Linked DNA regions of Homo sapiens: region 2 is linked to region 1. The links are contacts of gene promoters, found by promoter capture Hi-C in human tissues and cell types (Jung and others, 2019). All regions are on one chromosome and are shown on one strand. The core of a region is centred on a gene start or on the middle of the fragment in contact, and the rest is flanking DNA. Distances in the headings are between cores, read along the strand shown. Region 1 holds the start of C3orf22 (chromosome 3 open reading frame 22). Region 2 overlaps UROC1 (urocanate hydratase 1).

Region 1 (3,464 bases), core at 425-2,924:
TGTCTACATCTTAAAAATAAGAAGGATCCCAAATTAATGATCTAACTACACAATTTAAGGAATTAGAAAACGAAGAGCAGACTAAATCCAGAGCTAGCAGAAGTAAGGAAATAATGAAGGTTAAAGATAAATCAAGTCGAGAATGGAAAAACAATGGAGAAAATCAACAAAACCAAAAGGCGATTTTTGAAGTGATCAAAATTAACAAAGCTTTAGCTAGATTGACTAAGGAAAGAAAAAGACTCAAATTAGTAAAATAAGAAAGGAAAGTGGGAGGTATTACTACTGACCATACAGAAATAAAAAGGATTATGAAAGAATACGCCAAAAAATGTCACGCCAACAAATTGGATAACCTAGATAAAATGGACAAATTTCTAGAAACAAAAAAAAAAAAAACCAACAAGACTGAATCAGGGAGAAATAGAAAATATGAATAGACTCATAACTAGTAAAGAGATTGAATCAGTAACGAAGAAAAGCCCTGGGCCACATGATATCACTCGTGAATTCTAACAAACACTTACTAAAGAACATACATAAATGTTTTTCAAAGTTTTTCTAAAAGTTGAAGAGGTGGGACCATTTCCTAACTCATTCTGTGAGGCCAGCATTGCCCTAATACCAAAGTCAGACAAAGACCCTACAAGAAAGGAAAACTAGGGGCCAATATCCCTTATGAATACACATGCAAAAATCCTCAATGAAATATTAGTAAATGAAATTCATCAGCATATTAAAAGTGTTACACACTATTAACAAGTAATATTTATCCCTAGAATGTAAGGATTATTTTTTCATAATGAAAATATCAATGTACTACACTACATTATTAGAATGAGGAGGAAAAGACATGATCATTTCAATTGATGTGGAAAACACGCTTGACAAAATTGAACACTCTTTCATGATAAAAACACTCAACTCCTTAACATGATAAAGGCAATATATCCAAAAATCCCACAGCCAACACCATACTGTATAGTGAAAAACTGGAAACTTTTTCTCTAAGATCAAGAAGGAGACAAGGATGCCCACCTTCCCCAGTTCTATTTAACACAGTACTGGAAGTTCTAGCCAGAGCAACTAAGCAAGAAAAGGAAATATAAAGCATTCGAATTGGAAAGGAAGAAGTGAAGTTACCTCCGTTCACAGATGGCATATAGAAAACCCTAAATAATCCATAAAAACCCTGTTAGCACTAATAAGTAAAAAGCCGTAGGGTATAGCAGACAGTGGCACAGGTGAACAGCACTAATAAGTGAAAAGTCGTAGGGTACAGTAGACAGTGGCACAGGTGAACGGCTGAACCACTTCCAGTTCAGCTCCTTCACTGCCTTCTCCTTCCTCAACCCCCTGCAACCTGGTGTCCACTCCTCCACAGAAACAGCTTTTCTGCAGCCTCAGTGTCTGTACCTATTTCTGGGCGTCTCTTCTGTATGCAGAACCTGAACAGGGAGAGGTCTCTGCTATGAAGAGTGCAGATGTGGATGCTTCTGTCTGGGTGCGTGGAGCTGAGAGGCTGGCCAGCCCTGGCCCATGTGCTGCTGACTTTGCAGTCACTCCCTGGGCCAGAGGGGCTTCAGGCTGGAGTCTGAGCCTCATGGGTCAGCAGCTGTGATGTCACCAATTGTGACCTCAAGGGCTTCTGACCTTGCAGTGAGCTTGTTGGCACTGCCTGTCCGGGGACCCTGGGGCTGCTGTTCCTGTGGTAATGTGGCAGCTGGGACCATGGCCAGCTTCAGTCTGCCTGGCGTCACATAAGCCAGCCCACAGGGTCCTGCAGCTTGTCCTTTCTGGCTGGAAGCTCTGGGCATAGCCTGGGACTGGGTCTTTCCAGAGAGGGCTGTAGCCAGGGCCCTGCCAGCCTCGGGGGCCACAGCGGCTCTCACACCAGCATCTTGCTGGATAGGAGCAGTTCCAGGACTCTCTGATCACACCTGATCATCGTCACTGCCAGAATTCAAGGTAGCTGCCTGGTGAGTGCTAGCAGCCTGTGTGGCTGGAAAGGACAGTCCCCAAGTCGGTTAGGGACTTGGGAAGCAGCAACAGGGTGGCGGAGAAGAGCCTGGGACAGGGTCATGATGGCAGAGGGCAGCCCTGGACTCTGCAGCAGCCCTGTCCCTGTGGGGCAGATTCAGCAGTCAGCTTACAGGGTCATCTCCATGACCTAGGGGTCAGGTGGGAGGGTATGGGGTGGGGCTGAGGGGCGCTCCTGTCTCCCTTGATCCCTCAATTCCTGTGGTAATGCTGCTTCCCCGGTTCAGGACTGTTTGAGGCTGCATGGCCCAGCAGGAGGAGCACAGGCCACCCATCCTGAACCTCTTCCCCGACTCACTGTGTGAATGCAGGCAAATCAGTTAACTTTCCGGAGCCTCAGTTTCCTCACTTGAATTATGGGGGTGAGCATAATACGTTCTCCATCAGGTAGAAAAAAAATGAAGTGAGGTTATGCATAGAATGTAGCAGACACTTAGAGGCCACAGGCACCATTCTGCAGCCTCCTGCTGTGGCCCTGCTGCCTGTCCCGGCCCAGGCTTCCCCTGCCCCGCACTCCTCAGGGTTGAGCCTGGGCTGGAGGTGACTCACCCAAGTGCACCTGACAGGAAGGGGCTGAGCTGGGGCCTGGCCCAGGCTGTGGCTGCAGGACTGTGGGCTTAGGCCCAGCGAAGGCATCCCAGAGTCCTCAGAACAGCCAGGGCTGCAGGGGCGGAGGCCACCAAGACCCCCTTTAGCCAGCACTGGTGTAGAGAGCTGCACCCTGTACTAGACTAGTGGGCAAGTCAGTGGGGAAGCCTGCCCTTCAGGGCCCAGGGACTTCTTGGTGCGGGCAAGGGACAGGTCGTGAGCAGGGCTGGCAGTATTTCTGGGCCAGGGCAAAGGCCCTCTGGATGGCTGATCTTCCAGAGTCAGAGATGGGGCACGGAGGCGGTGGGTGAGCGGGTGTGTTCTGGCTCACAGACAGGCTGGTCTCCCATGCCATGGCCATGGTCCCAGTGGCCTGTGTTCAGTGTCCAGTGTGCAGCCTCCCGCCTCGGGCCTTGAGTGATTCCACACTTGGCGGCAGGCAGCCTCCCAGCTAGCCCAGTACCCCGCCCTCAGAGGGATGGATGAGCAGCATGGCACATTATGGGATCACTGCCGAGCAGTCTTGCCCGAGCCCACCGGCTTTTGGAGGACTCCGGAATCCCAGATTTGGAAAGGGCTACCCGTGTTCCCCAGGGGCTCCTCTCCAGACATCATCGGATTTTGAATCATGCCAGGTGTGGTAGTAGGTCACGCCAGCTGCTTTGAATTGGGAAGGGAAGCAAGGTGCGTTATGGGCTGGTGGGGGCAGCCTCTGCCTTGGACCAAGGAAGCGAGGAGCTCCCAGGTCACGCAGCAGAGGATAGGGACAGAGCTGAGGCCAGCCACACCCAGATGGCCACCTGCCTGTGTGTGGGGGTGTGTATGAGGTCAGGTCT
Region 2 (3,419 bases), core at 370-2,869, 56 kb after region 1:
ATCCCAACTATAGTAGGCTCTCGCATCTTTCTTTGGTGGGTGCTAAGGAGAGGAAGGGAAGTCGGAAGTGGAGGAGGCAAGGAGCCTTGAGGCAAGGCTTGGCGATATGTGCCAGTGGGATTTGCACTCAGTTGATGCCAAACCTACATCATACGTACCTGTGCTTGTTAGGAGTGCACCAAGCTGCAGGTAACAAGAAACCTACCTACAGCGGCTTGTGTAAATAGGGTTTTATTTTTCTCACGTAACCAACAGTGTTGGCATTGGTTTGGCAGCTCAATGATGTTAATATCTCTTGATTCCTTTGGGCTTCCCTTGTAGAAACAATGGCTGCCCCTACCCTAGCCATCCTATCCATGTTCAAGGCAGGAAGAGGTGAGAAGGGAAGTGTCTGCTATGACTCTATTTTTTCAGGAAAGTCATGTCTCCAAACCCTCTCCTTTTATCTCATTGGTCAGTCTTAGTTGAAATCGATGTTCTTATCTGCAAGGGAGGATGGAGATCGTGGACAAGTCCTTGTGATTAGCTTGGACGTAGACCATCTCCTGGGGCTGAACCGTGTCACCCTGAACACTACCTGGGTTCTGCTTATAAGGGAGGTGGGAGAAGGAATAAATAGAGGGAGGGCAGCTCATGGTGTCTTCCCTGAGACTGTGTTATAGAAAAGCAAGGGACCTACAGGGGATGACACCTTCCTAGTTGAGGATGATACACTTAGGGAAGATTTGTAACCGGGTGGCCCCATGTCTCGTGGCCCCATGTCTCATGGCCCCAGGTGGATAAAGCAGCCCTTGAGAAACGCCACAGGCAGGGCTGGCTGATGGAAGTGACTGACAGCTTGGACCGCTGCATCCAGAGGCTCAGGTACAGCTCCAAGCTCAACTCCGGACACCTGACACCTGACACGTGGCAGCAGGAGACCACAAGAGGACCCCCATGGGGCAGCTTGGTGTGGGCCTGTTTAATGCCTGACAGCTGGCTACATGTGGGCACCACACATACATGCACATGTACATATACATGCGCACACACACACACACGCACACAAGGGCTGACCCGCGGGTGGTGATAGGGCAGAAGCCTCTGGAAGGGCCTCCAACATTCCGTCATTGCCGGCTGCAGCCACTGGGCTGTGGGCTTGGTGTCAGACACTTGGCCTTGATGGGCTTCAGGTAGCCTTCTTGGGGCTCCCATGCTCTTACCTGGTTCTGCGAAGCATGAATCTTCTTTTCCCTGCTGTGTGGGCTCGCAGAGCCACCCGGCCTGATAGGGGCTGCCCTGCGCTGTTGCAGTGGCGAGCCTGTGAGGCGTGCACTCCCTCCCTGTGCTCCAGGGCAGAGCTTCGCCCACGGTGCTGAGGGGCAGTCGGTGGGTTTCTCCGCCTCAACCCTAGGCAAAGTCTTCAGAGGTATTTCAGTGGGATGGTGGGAAGACTGCCTTGGGGGCTCCTGCTCGGATGCCACTTTTGAAGCATCCTCTCAATTAATTTACTGCCCAGAGCAGAGTCCTGTTACGGGAAGACACATCGGTGCAGTGGTTGCCCACCTGGCTTCAACTAGAATCTCCACAGGGGCTTAAAAGCTGTTTCTGATGAAAATGTAAACAAAATTTGAGAAACGATGCAGTGAACTATTTTGACCTATCATTCTAACATACCAATCCAACCACATTGCACCCTCTTTAGAACTCTCAGATAATTTTTCATCAATGATAGAAGAAATTCCACACTCCAGGTGTGCTGTGAGGGGCTTCCCCGACCTAACTCCCATCCCTATTCAGGCTGTTTAGCATCCTGAGTGTGTGCATGTACACACACACACACATAAACGCACACACATAAACACACACAACATGCATGCACACACATATAACCACACAGACACACCCACATACATAAACACACATATAACACACACATAAACACACAACACACACATGCACATACATACACAGAGAATGCAGCACACACATGCACACAAGCTTGCACACACAAACACACAACACACATGTAACACACATGAACACACTTAACACACATAAGCACACATACACAGAGAACACAGCACACACATGCACACATACTTGCACACACAAACACACACAACATACACATGCATGCACATAAACAGACACATAACACACAACACATACATAGACACACACATAAACAGACACACAACACATGCATGCACACACAGGCACACACAGAGTGCACACATGCACACACATAAACACACACATACACATAAATACAGACACAGACATACACACATGCACACACAAACACAAACATGCATAAACACATAACTCATGCACAAACATAAATACAGACATAACACACACATGCATACACACTAACATGCATAAACACAATACGTATGCACACACATGCACACACAACACACAATGCACATATACATAATAAACACAAACACATAACACACATACATGCACACACAACACATAAACACATGTAAACACATGTACACAAACATGCATGTAACACAAACACACAAACGCACACAACACACATGCACACATGCATAAACATGCACAGAGACACACAGCACACACAAACACATAAACACACAGGCGCACACACACATAAACACACAGACACATGCACACACCATAAACACACACAGACACACACACAAACACACGCAACACACACACGCACATGCCCATAACATATATTCTCACATGCATACATACACATATGCATATACACGCATATATACATATATATGTACAAATGCATGCACATCCACACATGAACACACACACATACACATACATCAAAATCAGTTTAAGGAACTGTCTCGAGCAACCTGTCTGCCACACTTCCGCAACCCCCGAGCTGAGGAAGACCCATGGGAATGGAGTGAGCTCTGCTCACGGTTCCCACAGGGTCCTTCAGCTGGGATTGCAACAAGCCCTGGGCTGGGCCGGCCTCCCTGCTGCCCTGGGACTGTGTGTCCTTTCCTGCTTTGTCAACCTTGCACCCCTGGGGGAGGGGAGGTGCCTGGCTCCCTCGGGCTTCTCCAGGCCACTCCTGGTAAGCATTCAATCTGCTCTTTCATGGGGACCATACCACCTTCCCTGTGCATTGCTGCTTTTTGATATCTCTACTACCTGCAAGGCCTGTTCAAATCTTCTGTTTCCCAAAATATGCTTTGATTTTTCCTGTCCTATTTTTCCGAATAATTTTGGGAATCATCTTTAGTGAATCCTGCAACTCTGGGACCACCTTGGGTGGGTTCTGTAAAGATCCCTGTGGAGGACCCACATCAATAACCCGAATTCCATGGATCGCCCAGGCAGTTTTGCCACTGCCATGTGGGTTTTCTGGTCTGGGGAATTTGGGTCTGGATTTTCCCTTTATAGTTTTGTGTCCTGGACAAAAGTCGGGGTCCTGC

What was found. The method cuts DNA at HindIII sites, captures the fragments that hold promoters and counts their contacts. A contact is called where the count stands out against the background at its distance.
Region 2: a fragment that was not itself captured here is called in contact with the fragment with the promoter of C3orf22 in region 1 in 4 of the 25 tissues and cell types used here (H1 embryonic stem cells, aorta, heart right ventricle and 1 more).

Annotation. Positions count from the first base shown.
Region 1 is chr3:126,557,142-126,560,605 of GRCh38, reverse strand. It overlaps C3orf22 (chromosome 3 open reading frame 22), which reads left to right and starts at 1,674. Exons shown (of 4, transcript NM_152533.3): 1 at 1,674-1,979. LOC105374090 (a long non-coding RNA gene) reads right to left here and starts at 1,593. Exons shown (of 3, transcript XR_924455.2): 1 at 1,417-1,593. The HindIII fragment of the contact is 13,796 bases long and covers 1-3,464 here.
Region 2 is chr3:126,501,440-126,504,858 of GRCh38, reverse strand. UROC1 (urocanate hydratase 1) reads left to right here. Exons shown (of 20, transcript NM_144639.3): 9 at 776-864. Among named protein-coding and RNA genes, the nearest start is that of UROC1, 15 kb to the left of the region's middle. The HindIII fragment of the contact is 6,165 bases long and covers 1-3,419 here.